2 separate regions of the Homo sapiens genome follow, and region 1 is linked to region 2. Evidence: promoter capture Hi-C in 16 types of primary human blood cells and fetal thymus (Javierre and others, 2016). All regions are on one chromosome and are shown on one strand. Each heading gives the region's core, a stretch centred on a gene start or on the middle of the fragment in contact. The rest is flanking DNA. Distances are from core to core; before and after follow the strand shown.

Region 1 (7,077 bases), core at 3,912-6,411, 130 kb after region 2:
CTCCAGCCTGGGCGACAGGAGACTCTGTCTCAAAAAAAAAAAGAAGAAAGATTAACTGAATTTAAAAAATAACATATTCCCAGAGGTTCACTGTAGGGTGAGCACTGTGTCCTGCCACGTTTGGAATCGTTTTGTCTTTGAAGAAGTGGAGCCTCTCCCAGGGCTGGCTCGGTGCCCTTGTCTTTCCAGCAACAGCGTTAGTTATAGTCATCTTTGAGACTGGCTTTTCTTTCATCTCTGGAGAGAGCTTGATTCGTCATCTTATTGCTTTGTCTGAACTAATTTTGTTTAGTAGAGCTTTTCAATAAATAGTTTGGATTTTTTAAATGAGTTTAAAATATGCTCATGTTTCTCCAAATTGCTGATTATTCCTTTAGGCCTTCGTTAGCCCATCTTAATTTTCTCAGAATCTACTCAAAACAGATCTGAGTATTTATACAGATGTGCAAGAAATTTCTTACATTCTCATGGATTTTGAGATGTAGTGCTTATTAGTCAAATAATATCTGGAAGTTTTCTTCAACAAAATAACTCTCGCAGCACGTTGAGAGGCTGAGGCAGGATTGAGGCCAGGCATTCCAGATCAGCCTGGGCAGCATAGCAAGACCCCATCTCTACAAAAAAAAACCCAAAACTAGATGGATGTGGTGCACAGCTACTTGGAAGGTTGAAGTGGGAGGATCCTTTGAGCCCAGGAGTTTGAGGTTACAGTGAGCTATGATTGCACCACTGCATTTCCAGCCTAAGCCACAGAATGAGACCCTGTCTCTATAATAAAAGTTTTTAATTAGCCAGGTGTGGTGGTGCGTGCCTGTAGTCCTAGCTGCTTGGGAGGCTCAGGCAGGAGGATGGCTGGAACCCAGGAGGTCGAGGCTGCAGTGAGCCATTATTGTTCCACTGCACTCCAGCCTGGGTGACAGAGCGAGACCCTGTCTCAACAAACAAAACAAACAAAAAAACAAAAAGAAAGAACTGCTCCCCTCCCCAACCTCAGGAAAGGCCCTCCCAGCCCTTGGGTCAGGACAGCAGGAGGCCCTGAGGGAGCTTGAGCTGACTCCTGCTTCTGCTTCTGCTTCTGCTCTGTCCGGAGTCTCAGGCTGCCTTTAGCAAGTATTCCGCATGAGCGTCATCCCTGCGGCTTCAGGAGAAGCAGAGTGAACCTTGGAGAAAAGAGAGGCACCCAAGGTGGGGACCTGCGGGCTTGCCTCATTCATCCCTGGACAAGCCTCCCAGAAACGAAATGGGCTGCTCACCTCTGTGATCCTCAGAGTTAGCAAAACTGCTTGCTATGTCATTTAGACCTCTTACAAAATGATATTCATCTATCACTGGTGATGACATTCATTCTGAATTCCACTCATAGGCTTCAGGATACTTGCCCTCATTTTTTTTTCCCTTCATTTCAACAGTTTTCACTGAGTGTCTTGTGGACATGAGTCATCAAATGTTTTGCTGCCTTTATGATCCAATCCCAAATAAAAAGTAAAACATTTGTCCTAGTGCATCACTGTCACCACTCAGACCAGGAGTCAGGACGCGGATTGATGTTCAGGTAGCTGTGTGGCCTTGAGAGGGCCATGTCAGCTCTCTTTTGGTGCCAGGTGAAGTCTGTACTGGGGGTCTGGCTGCCTCCCTCACAGGGTTGGGAGCATGTCCCAGGACGACACCTAGGAGAGTACCATGAAACCAGAGAATGACGGAGGCAGTCTCAGTCAGCGTTGAGATTTATTTTGCCAAGATTGAGGATGTGCCTGGGAAAAGGACACAAGCCACTGTAGGATCTGTGGTCTGCACTTTTTTCCAAAAAGGATTTTGGGCGCTTCAGTATTTAAAGAGGAAAGAAAACAAAAGAGGGTATGGTCTCATCCTTGATTAGAGCTCGTTAATCCACATACTGCAGGCAAGGAGGGGGAAGCGGAACAGTGGGTTACATGGGGGAGACGGTATTTTTCCTCTCCTCTCATCCCTCACCGGGAAGATATGCTGTTAATTTACATCGTCTGGGTGAGAGAGGCCACCTGGGAAGACACTGCCTTCTATCTCTAGCCATTCTGTTGAGGAACAAAAGGAAGGTCGGTGTTCCTCCTGACTCAGCTTCCAAGCTTACCTTTTCCCTTGGGCATAGTGAGTTTGGGGGTCTCCAGATTTTACTTTCCATACACATCAACTGTGGTTGGTTTTTTGTTGTTTTTGTTTTTTACAGTTAAATATATTATTAAAGCATGAAAAGATCATGATGTCTCCAATAACCAAATGTTATTCAAGAAAACTAGAAATATTTAGATTATACCACAGCTTAGACAGGCTTTGCCTGATTTATTAAGCCATTTACAATCAGTTCTATCATCCATACCCAGGACTTCCGGGCTGGAAAAATACATCCTATAGCTTTCCCAGTAGGAACCACATTCATCATTGCTTTTTTCTGTGGAGGCAATGTATAAATAGAGCAGCTTTTTGAAAACATAAGCAGAGGCCCAAATCAGTGGCCTAAAACTTGGATGATCTGGGGAGGCACCAGGCCATCTGAACCAGCGCTTTGTCCCCAGCAGATGTTGGGACATGCAGGGGCTATGCATGTCAGCACAGGGGGCCACTCAGCAGCCGGGTAAACTTGAGGTACTGGCCTAGCCTCTCTGTGCCCCTCTGTAAAATGAATTAAACTGCACTCCTCCCAGGACTGTGTGGATCAAATGAAATAGTGCATGCACGTGACCACATCAAACAGATGGACAAGAAGAGCAGAAAGACTGCAGGAGCCAGGACAGAGGACCCAGAGTCAAGGGCTTCTCACCCCAACTGCTTCTTGCCTCTTTCTCTGCCCTGGACTTCCTTTCCCAGTTTCAGCCCCACAAATTGCTTCCTCTTTGTGTGAGTGAAGGCTTCAGGGTGGAGTGAAGCTAGTCACTTGTAGAGGCCCCTGTAGAGGAAGATGAAGATGAGAAGTCCATGTAGATGGCATCACCGAGTGCCAGGACTGGATGCCCCAAACACCACAAGCCATGTCGCATCCTGGGGGTCGCCTGGGCAGGCCTCTCTACCATTTAGTCACTGCAGTCAGCTACAGCCCACAGCAGATCTAAAACAAAAGCACCTGTAATCTCAGCATATTGGGAGGCTGAGGCGAGCAGATCACCTCAGGTCTGGAGTTCAAGACCAGCCTGGCCAACATGGTGAAACCCTGTCTCTACTAAAAATACAAAAACTAGCCAGGCATGGTGTCGTGCACCTGTAATCCCAGCTAGTTACATGGCTGAGGTGGGAGACTCGTTTGAACCCAGGAGGCAGGGGTTGCACTGAACCAAGATTGCATCACTGCCCTCCAGCCTGGGTGATAGAGTGAGACCCTGTCTCAGAAAAAAACAACAAAAAACCCCACAAAAGCAGTGAGTGTGGGATGGGTGACGCAGATGGAAGATGAAGACGTAGGGGACAAAAGCAAGGGGCTATTGCAAAGGATCTGGAACTGCAGCTTCAAAGCCAGGAGTGCAGAGCCCGTGGGGCAGGGCCACCATCACTAAACTGGAATGGAGAGGCCAAAATCTGAACCTGAAGTTGGAAGAAGAGGGGAACAACACCGCTGGCCTCTGGGAATGGGAAGATCCTAAGGGGTGACTCCAGTGCCCAAGTTCCTATGCAAGAAGTAGCCACACAACTTCCCAGAGTGTGGCATCTCACAAGGAGCAGAGGTTTCAGTTTGTCACTAGTCACATGTCCCGTCTTACCAGATGCATAGGTAAACAGGAGCCCTGACCTCCAGGAACCCCCTGGACTCTGCAGGCTCACAGTGCCCGCGTGACAGCACCGAGCAGGCCAGCTGGAGATGTGAGGGGGGTGGGGAAAAGGATCTGGAGCAGGATGTTCAGGTAGAGGCAGAGAGAAATGGCTAGGGCTGCAGTGGGATAAACACGTGGTTCTGCTTGGCTGCAGGAGGCATCTTGTTGCTTGGAGGGTTGGGGAGGTGATGCTTAAACACATAGGCCAACTCGGGGCCTTGGGCACCATGTGGAGCAGTCCAAACTTTGTGCTGGAAACACGGGGAGGATACTTGTGATACTGCGTGTGTCAGTCCTTCTACTGGAGAGCTGGTTCTAACCATCATCAAGTGAGAGGAGAGGAAGCCCTCAGGTGGCAGGTGTATCTCTATTCGGTGAGAATGTCATGGTTGTCAGTCATGCTATAGGGTTGCCCTCCAGTAGAATGATCTGATATGTCTATGCAGAAAGTAATTTGGAGGGTTTTGACAGTGTCTCCTGTGGGCTTCTCGGACTGAATAATGGAATCTCAGAAGGGGATGTCCCTTAGCAATCACCTGTTCCAACCTTCTGACCTCCAGGTCTCACCAGTCACTAGTTTTGTGGTAGATTGCAGGCATGTCTGGTGCGTCCAACACTAGAAAAGTCACGGCATTGGACAGGGAATCCCCTGCCAACCTTGGGGGAAGGAGCTGGCGTGTAGGGCCAAGAGTTGCTCAGGTTGGATGGTGTGCCACCTCATAGCCCTTGCCCAGATCCAGACAGCTGGCAATCCTCCATTTCCTGCCCCTGCCCGAGGATGGCCTCAGTCCTCATACCTGTGCCGGCTGAGAGTGTCACATCCACCATCTGGACCACGTTCCCCAAAAACCATCTCAGTAAGGGTCAGAATGGCCTGCAACTGCTGCCAACTGGAAGTTTCCATGCTGTGAAGTCATTAATTATCCACCTATAAGTCTGGAATGCCATCAGGTGGTTCCAAGGTCTCCGCCTTTGACAGGGTGGTGGCTCCCAGCCACTCCCATGCATCAGGCCTGCCTGTGCACGGAGGGCCAAGTCTGTTGGGCCCCTTGGCTTGGAGAAGAGTTTCACTGAGATATTAGTAACTGTGAGTCACCACACGCAGCAGTTGTGCAGGTGTCAGGCTAAAAAGAAGCTCAGATAGGACCCAGAACAAATGGGCTCACTTGGGACTAGGCAAGGGATTATAGTTCAGGATGTGTGTGCTATAATGATGGATCAGGGCATATCCAGGGATGTCGTGGCAAAGATAAATTTTTATTTTTATTTTTTTTTGAGATGGAGTCTCGCTCTGCTCTTGGCTCAATACAACCTCTGCCTTCTGGGTTAAAGTGGGTCTTCTGCCTCGGCCTCCCGAGTAGCTGGGATTGCAGGCACTCGCCACCATACCCGGCTAATTTTTGTATTTTTAGTAGAGATGGGGTTTCGCCACGTTGGTCAGGCTGGTTTCGAACTCCTGACCTCAAGCGATCTGCCTGCCTTGGCCTCCCAAAGTGCTGGGATTACAGGCATGAGCCACTGCACCTAGCCAAAGAGGAATCTTTTAAAGACAAACAGATGTACACATGAGCGGCTTTGAAACAAGGCTCGTAGGTGACAGAAGCTCACTGCAGGAGTTGGCTCTGTTGATTGGGGGAGGCGGCTGTTGCCAGGTCAGTGTTGCGTGCTGGTGGCAGATCTGGAATACTGCGGCCTCAAGAAGTCCTTGCACTAAGTCGTGATGCTGGTCTGGGTGCAGGAAAGTCTTGGGATAAGTCCTGTTTCAGGCATGTGGGCGTGAGGGCTTCTTGATGGCCTCCCACCACTCCATTTTGCTGGAGTTTAATGTAAGTGACTCCATTTTGGTACCAGCAGCTTTCTCAAAGGTTTTGGGGTTTTTTTGCTTTTGGGTTTCAACAACAGGAATTGAATCAAAGCACTTAACATGTGTTACTATTAAGATATGTCTCTGTTTTCACATTCTATAGAGTTAGTTTTTGTGTTTTTTTTTTTCACTTTGTAAAAGAAGGGAATATATATTTAGGTTTGATATCTCCAGATTTTAGGCCGGGTGAGGTGGCTCATGCTTGTAATCCCAGCACTTTGGGAGGCCAAGGCAGGTGGATCACCTGAGGTCAGGAGTTTGAGACCAGCCTGACCAACATGGTGAAGCCCCGTCTCTACTAAAAATGCAAAAATATTAGCCGGGCATGGTGGCCCACGCGTGTAATACCAACTGCTTGGGAGGCTGAGGCAGGAGAATCGCTTGAACCTGGGAGGCGCAGGTTGCAGTGAGTCGAGATCACACCACTGCACTCCAGCCTGGGCAACAAGAGTGAAACTCCGTCTCAAAAAAGATATCTCCAGATTTTAATAAAATCAATATTCGTATGCAAAAGTTTAACAATGTTTCCCTTTTTGCATTATTTGAACTAAATGCAGTTGGCCTTCTACCTGTTCTCCTGGCAGAAGGCGAAGGTGGAATGTCCCAGCTGCCTACTAGGCAATAGTGCCTATGGCGAAAACAGCTCCTGGCTGGCAGGGGGAAGCTGATTTGGGAGGCGCCATCACTAAGTAATGGAAGAGAGCTATGCTATGGGTGTGGTGATTCCTGCTAGGGGCACCCTGGGGCTCCTGGAGAGACTGGTTTCTGCAGGGAATGAGCTTCCAGGCCAGGCGGCCTCCACACGTGGAGATGTGAGTGGGCTCTGTCCTCCCTCGCAGCCGGCTGTGTGGACTCTGTAAGGGCTCCTGAGGAAGAGGAATCCGGGGGACCGGTTCCTGTCCTGCAGCCTCAGGGTGGGCCGCTGCCAGGCGCGTCCCTGCACGCGTAGAAGGAAGGCGCTTTCAGACGCGAGGGCGGCTTCGTCATCTCCTCCCGGTGGGTGCGTGCTGCCAGCGCGGCCTTTAGATGCTTTGGGCTCCGACTCTGTCTCCCTCTTCTTCAAATCATGAGGGCACTCGGGCACCCCGGTGTGAGAGGCAGGTGGTCCCAGAGTCCGTGTCACCTGGGTCACATCTCCAAGGCCCCAGGCCGCCCCCGGGCGGCCCGCCCCCAGTCCCCGCAGCCCGGAGCAGGATGGGCCCGGGCTGGACTGAGGGGCTGGGGCGCCCGTCTGCCCTGATGGGCGCAGCTGTCTGGGACCACGCGGTGCCCCGGGTCGGCCCCCAGCGTCGCCATCACCTCCCCCAAGACGTCCCCACGCGGCGGCCACACTGCGCTCCAACGACCCGCGCTCTCGGACCCGGTCACACTGACGGCGGTGACTCCCGAGTTCCCGGGACCAAGCGGGCCCGCCCTGGGAGCCTGAGCTTTCTCCTC
Region 2 (7,196 bases), core at 344-2,843:
CATGCCTGTAATCCCAGCTACTCGGGAGGCTGAGGCAGGAGAATCGCTTGAATGCGGGAGGCGGAGGTTGTAGTGAGCCGAGATCGCGCCATTGCACTCCAGCCTGGGCAACAAGAGCGAAACTCCGTCTCAAAAAAAAAAAAAAAAAATTTATCTTTGAACTTTTCAATTTGTATTTATTTATTTATTTATTTTTAGAGATAGGGTCTCACTCCACCGCCCATTGTAAATCAAAAATGAAATCCTAAGACCCCTCAACCATCTGCATGGACCCCACCAAGGGCATTCCAGAGTTAACCTTGTTTTAGGTTGTTTTAAGCAAAACTTGTTTAGGCCATGATGGGAAGTGGGGGTGGAACTTGACACATTTCATCCTCCTCCCTTTTAGAATTCAGGAAAAGCAGACCAGCATTTAACATGCTGGACACTTAACTTACCTGGAGGCTTCATCTGCATGATAAAACTTCAGTCTCCACAGCCTCTTATTGTAACCCAAACATTCCTTTCCATTGATAATAAATCTTTCAACCAAATGCCAATCAGAAAATTTTCAATCTACCTATAACCCGGAAACCCCCGACCCACCCACCTCCTCAGCTGTCATACCTTTATGGACCGAACCAATGTACATCTTAATCTTACATGTATTTGACTGATGACTCATGGCTCCCCTAAAATGCATAAAACCACACTGGGCCCCGACCACCTTGCGTACGCGTTCTCAGGGTCTCCAAATGGCTGTGTCACCAGCCATGGTCACTCATATTTGGCTCAGAATTAATCCCTTCAAATATTTTATAGAGTTTTGACTTTTTGTCAACCGCAGGCTGCGTCACAGCTCGCTGCAGCCCCAAACTCCTGCGCTGAAGCGATCCTTTCCCCCACAACTTCTCGAGTAGCAGGGACTTCAGGTGCGTGCCACTACACCTGGCTTTTTTTTTTTTTTTTTTTGGTACTTTTGTTGTTATGGTGGGGGCGGGGGACTTGCTATGTTGCCCAGGCTGGTCTCGCATCTCTGGGATCAAGCCATCCTCCCACTTCAGCGTCCCAGAGTGCTGGAATTACAGGCCTAAGCAACGGCACCCAGCCTATCTTTTAATTTTTAACTTCAAAGTTATCGTTAAAAATCTAATCCCCCCAAAATATGAAAAAAATACTTAATATGCACTGACCTGTAGTTTTTCTCTAATTCACTATCTTAAATATATTAATTGCAATCTCATCAACTGCGACTTGCATTTGAAATTTTCCACCTTAAACGGTATTTTTTGATAAGATGGATTTTTTAAAAAATCTACACCAGCAAACTAGAGTGAGAGACCCCTGCAAAGTAATACATGGGCCTTAAGTCACCGAGATTTTCCAGCAAATAATTTGCAGAATGCTGTTTTTCCTAGGTTAACTTGCAATCCTAACACGGAAGGAGGTTCCGTTTTTAGAAGTTTAAATGTTGTCACACGGGCGCAAGAATACATACAACAGCCATGCTTTCCAGCTCTGCGCACAACGCCAGGCAGATGGGGAGCACCGGGCGGTGCGGGAGCCCTTTCACCAGGGCAGGGTGGCTTCGGTGGCCGAGGGACCCGGGAACTGCAGCCGGAGCCGGCGCGCACCCAGCCAACTTCCTGTTTCCGCGGTAGCGCGCGGGCCTGTCACTGAAGCCCCGCCCCGGCGACCTCAGGCGGGCGGGGAAGACCGAGTCTTCCCGGAGCCGCTTCGTCCGCCCGGCGCCGGAGTCCCACGGCCGGTTTGCGGAAGCGGGTCGTCTGAAGGGGCCCGGCGGGTGGCTCCCGGGTCTCCGCGGCCTGTGATCCCCAGAGCGGACAACCGCAGCTGGGGCTCCGTGCGCAACTCGGAGTAAAGGCCGGAACCTACGCTCGGCGGCCGCGTCCCGGCCCCTAGCGCCCTCCGCGAAGTGCCTGGCAGGCTCGGCAGTCTGAGTGTCGCGTTACAGAGTCCCCTGGGCAGTCACCGCTGAAGGGCGGGGGACGCGGGAAAGGCATTTTGGGGACACAGGAGAGCTGCGAGGGCGAAGCACGGGCGAGCTGTCGTTAGGGCCCAGGAAAGGCCCGTTGCGGGGCGCACAGGCGGGCAGGGGAACTCGCGCCCCGCGCCGCGCGCCCGGCCTCCTGACGCCAGGGCCGGCTTCTGAGCACAGCCACCGCGGCGGCCGGGGGCGGCCACTGCTCCCCGCGAGCCCGCTTCCGCGCCCCAGAAGCCCCCAGAGCCCGCGTCCGAGCTCCAGGCCTTGGAGGAGCCAGGCGGGCAGCTGACAGCCCCGGAGCCGCTCCCGGGTTCCGCGCGCGGTGGCAGCCAGGCCGTGCCTCCCCGTTCCCCTCCCGCGCCGCGCTGCCCCTCCGGGACCCACCAGGCCTGGCTGCGCCTCTTTCCTCTCCTCCCCCGGAGCCTTGGAAAGTGCCCTCCAGAGATGTGCTTAGGAAGTGTGTGATGAATAAAGGAGACAATCAGGATAACTATAATATTTATTATGCACTTGCTTTTTTCTCACTGATGTTACTAATTTTAATGGTGTAGCGCGGCGCGTTCCAGTTTTCTAAGTGCTCTCACATCCGTTCAAAAAATCCTCAAAATAAGCCTGTATATTAAAAGCAGGAGCCATTATTTCATATTTCAAGAAGTAAACATGCTCAGAGTAATAATCCACATAGAGCCTTCCAACCAGTCAATTCTGGTACATTTTCACAAATCTATGAGTGTGGTTAATACACGGAGATGTGGTTTGAGGAATTATATAGGACACAGCCAGCAAAATGCCTGGTATACAATAAGTATGCGGTAAATGGTTATTATTATTAAGAATATTGTAATATCTTCAGATATGATCAGGTGAACAACTTTGACATAATCGAAACTGGGACAGCCTGATTCCATAAACACACTAATATGGCACCGTGGATTGTTTGCAGCCTCACCTCTAAAGTATTCTCTCTGACTAACAAAGAAAGGGAAACTAGAACCAGTTAAGCTTATAACACTAATCACAGGCTAAAGGAAATACAGGGGCCAAATGAACCCATTAGATTACACCACCAGGAAGTAATCTGCCAAATCCAGAATGTGGGAAATTCTACAAACCAAATGACCCAATTTCTTTTTTCAAAAATAAATGTTCAGAGGCTGAAGTGGGAGGATTGCTTAAGGCCAGAGTTCAAGGCTGTAGTGAGCTATGATCACAGCTGTGAATAGCCACTGCACTCCAGGCTGGGCAACACAGCTAGACCCCCCATGTCTTTAAAAAAAAGAGGGTGGGGGGACCTTGAGAGACACATTAGCCAAATGCAATTTGTGGACCTTGTTTGGGTCATGATTAAGACAAACAAACTTTTACATAAATAAATGGCATTTTTAAAAACATTGGCGGCCAGGCGCGGTGGTTCTTGCCTGTAATGCCAGCACTTTGGGAGGCCGAGGCGGGCAGATCAGGAGGTCAGGAGATCAAGACCATCCTGGCTAACACGGTGAAACCCCGTCTCTACTAAAAAAAAAAAAAAAAAAAAAAAAATTAGCCGGGTGTAGTGGCAGGTGCCTGTAGTCCCAGCTACTCGGGAGGTTGAGGCAGGAGAATGGTGTGAACCCGGGAGGCAGAGCTTGCAGTGAGCCCAGATCACGCCACTGCACTCCAGCCTGGGCGACAGAGTGAGACTCCATCTCAAAAAAAAAAAAAAAAATTGGGAAACTTAAACATGGACTGAATGTTAGGTGACATTAAATAACTTCAGGTAATTTTATTACGATAATACCATAGTGGCTATGATTTTTAAAGGCCTCAGAGAAACATATTAACATATTTACAGGCAAATTATATTATTTCTGGGATTTGCTTTAATAAAATTTAATAACAAATTCCTGGAGTTTTTTAGAGAACAAAGTGAGAGATAGGAGAAACAATATTGGCAAAGTGTTTAATGTTTAAGCAAGGAGATGGGTACATGGGCATTGTGCTAGGCCTAATTATGCCCCCCAAACATGCCCACATTCTAATCTTCAAACCTGTGAACAAGTTACCTGACATGGCAAAAGGGGCTTTGCAAGTATGCGATGAAGAACCTTGAGATGGGAGATGATCCTGGATTATCCCAGTGAGCCCAGTCTCATTGGGTCCTTCCGAGAACCTTTACCTGCAAATGAGAATTGGAAAGAGACGTAACACTGGAAGGAAGTTCAGAGAGATTCAACCTGACAAGGATGTGGCCGCTGGTGCTGACTCCGGAGATGGAGGAAGGGGCCACAAGCCCAGGAATGCCACAGGTGGCCTCTCAAGGTGGAAAAGGCAAGGAATGAATGATCCTGCAGATGCTCAGGTGTCCTGCCATCACCTGAGTTTTAGCCCAGTGAGCCCCGTGTGGGCTCCTGACCTACAGGACTTGTACGGTAGTAAATTTGGGTTGTTTTAGGTCACCAAAGTGGTAGTAATTTGTTACAGCAGCCATAGAAAACTAATACAAGCATTTGCTATATTTCTCTCTATGTTTTTGTAAGTTTAAGATTTTTTTCTGCTGGGTGCGGTGGCTTACGCCTGTAATCCCAGCACTTTGGGAGGCCAAGGAGGGCAGATCACAATGTCAGGAGTTCGAGATCAGCCTGGCCAATATGGTGAAACCACGGCTCTACTAAAAATACAGAAATTAGCCAGGAGCGGTGGCATGCGTCTGTATTCCCGGCTACTCGGGAGGCTGAGGCAGGAGAATCACTTGAACCCAGGAGGTGGAGGTTGCAGTGAGCCGAGATCGTGCCACTGCACTCCAGCCTGGGTGACGGAGTGAGATTCTGTCTAAAAAAAAAAAAAATTGTAATAAAATATTTATTAAGTCCATAAAACATAAACCTAAGAAATACATTTTTAAGGTAATTCATTTACACCTGAAGTGTAATCTGACCAACCATAGAATTATACCATGCATTTTAATTTCCAAAAGAATTATATGTCATAAATCCCTTTTTAAAAAGCATTGTTGAGTATGGTTAGTAAAATAATGTTAATTTTCAAAGTCACAGATATAATAAAGCATCACGGATATAATAAAGCATGGCATGACCTATTCCTGACTTTATTTATTTATTTATTTTTGAGACAGAGTCTTACTTTGTCACCCAGACTAGAGTGCAGTGGCTCATCTTGGCTCACTGCAACCTCTGCTTCCCGGGTTCAAGCCATGCTCCTGCCTCAGCTTCCTGAGTGGCCGGGATTACAGGCACCCGCCACCGCACCCAGCTAATTTTTGCATTTTTAATAGAGACAGGGTTTTGCCATGTTGGCCAGGCTGGTCTCGAACTCCTAACCTCAAGTGATCCGCCCACCTCGGCCTCCCAAAGTGCTGGGATTACAGGTCTGAGCCACCGCGCCTGGCCCCATTCCTAACTTTAGAATTAGTTTATCTATACCGATTGTTATCAAAATCTGCATATTGACATGACTTTTAAGATGCTGACATTTATAAAGGTAATTTTCCTTCTAGCATATATTAATTTCAGGAAACAGATAACACAATTAATAAAATATATAAAACAGAATCGTTAAAGAAAATAATCTTCCCAAATATGTAAAAGTAGAATAGTTTAAAAAACAGTACCGAATATTTTAATGTAATTTCTAATTTTCAATTAATGAATATTAGGCATTTTCTATTATATGGATAAATTACCCACATTTTGTCAAATTTGCTAAAACAGTCCGGGCGCGGTGGTGCACACCTGTAATCCTAGCACTTTGGGAGGCCAAGGCGGGCAGATCACTGGAGGTCAGGAGTTTGAGGCCAGCCTGGCCAACATGGTGAAACCCCATCTCTACAAAGAATACAAAAAAATTAGCCAGGCGTAGTGGTGGGCGCCTGTAATCCTAGCTGCTCCGGAGCCAGAGGAAGAGGCAGGAGAATCACTTGAACTCTGGAGGCAGAGGTTGCAGTGAGCTGATATCGCGCCATTGCACTCCAGCCTGGGCAACAAGAGTGAAATTCCGTCTCAAAAAAAAAAATTGCTAAAACAGATAACATTTATTAAAGTCCATAGTTTTAACTAATTTTATTAGTTGACTTTTAATGCCATTAACCAATTTTTTTTTTTTTGAGACCAAATCTGGTTCTGTCTCCCAGGCTGGAATGCAGTGGCATGATCTCAGCTCACTGCAACCTCCACCTCCTGGGTTTAAGGGATTCTCATGCCTCAGCATCCGGGGTAGCTGGGATTACAAGTGTGTGTCACCATACCTGGCTTTTTTTTTTTTTTTTTTTTTTAGAGACAGGGTTTACCCATGTTGGCAAGGCTGTTCACAAACTCCTGACCTCAAGTGATCTGTCTGCCTCAGCCTCGTAAAGTGCTAGGATTACAGGCTTGAGCCACCACACCCGGCCTACTTGGGGTATTTGGTTTTGTTTCTTGAGACAAGGTTTCATTGTGTTCCCGGGGTGGCCTCAAACTCCGAGGTTTAAGTGATCCTCCCATCTTAGCCTCCTAAGTAACTGGGACCAGAGGTGTTCCCCAATGTGCCGGGCTAACTGGTTTTAATTCTACAGAGCACTCTTTAAATCACTGTTTCCTCTCTAAACATCTTCAGTTTCATATTGTACTTCACTGTCTTGTAAACTACTTTTCTGTGGGAGCAGCTACAGTGAATAACATTGTGGTATACATAGTGGTATACATGGTTGTGATATACATTGTTGTGTTGTGGTAACATTGTGGTATCTTTGCCGCCTTGTATTTAAAAAATCCTGGCTTACACTAAGGGAGCCTTGGAAACTCCCAATACTTTGGGAGGCCGAGGTAGATGGGTCACCTAAGGTCAGGAGCTCAAAACCCAACATGGCAAAACACCATCACTGCTTAAAAAAAGTAATAAAAAATTAGCCCAGTGTAATGACACACACCTGTAGTCTCAGCTCTCCTGGAAGCTGAGGCAGGAGAATCGCTTGAACCCAGGAGGTGGAGGTTACAGTGAGCCGAGATAGCGCCACTGCACTCCAGCCTGAGCAACAGAGGAAGACTCTGTCGTAAGAAAACAAAAAACAGGTGGGGCCTGGCTCCTCACCCACCCGTCAGCTCCAGGACTGCCCCTTCCTGGGCCAACTGGCCAAACAACTGGGAAGAGCCCCCAACTCCAACAGGATTATTTTCCCAGCAGGAGTTACAGATGCAGCCACAGATTGATGATCTGCCTTAACATGATCGGAGATGCTTTG

What was found. The method cuts DNA at HindIII sites, captures the fragments that hold promoters and counts their contacts. A CHiCAGO score of 5 or more calls a contact.
Region 1: a fragment that was not itself captured here is called in contact with the fragment with the promoter of MPPE1 in region 2 in 16 of 17 cell types (total B cells, monocytes, naive CD8 T cells and 13 more); the score reaches 8.3 in total B cells.

The regions. Positions count from the first base shown.
Region 1 is chr18:12,031,855-12,038,931 of GRCh38, forward strand. No RefSeq gene overlaps it. Among named protein-coding and RNA genes, the nearest start is that of IMPA2, 54 kb to the left of the region's middle. RefSeq lists an enhancer at 6,344-6,845 and a silencer at 6,793-6,862. The HindIII fragment of the contact is 6,123 bases long and covers 2,101-7,077 here.
Region 2 is chr18:11,906,724-11,913,919 of GRCh38, forward strand. It overlaps MPPE1 (metallophosphoesterase 1), which reads right to left and starts at 1,594. Exons shown (of 11, transcript NM_023075.6): 1 at 1,478-1,594. LOC101927511 (a long non-coding RNA gene) reads right to left here. Exons shown (of 4, transcript XR_007066296.1): 4 at 3,826-4,139. RefSeq lists a silencer at 1,987-2,386. The HindIII fragment of the contact is 5,797 bases long and covers 1-2,984 here.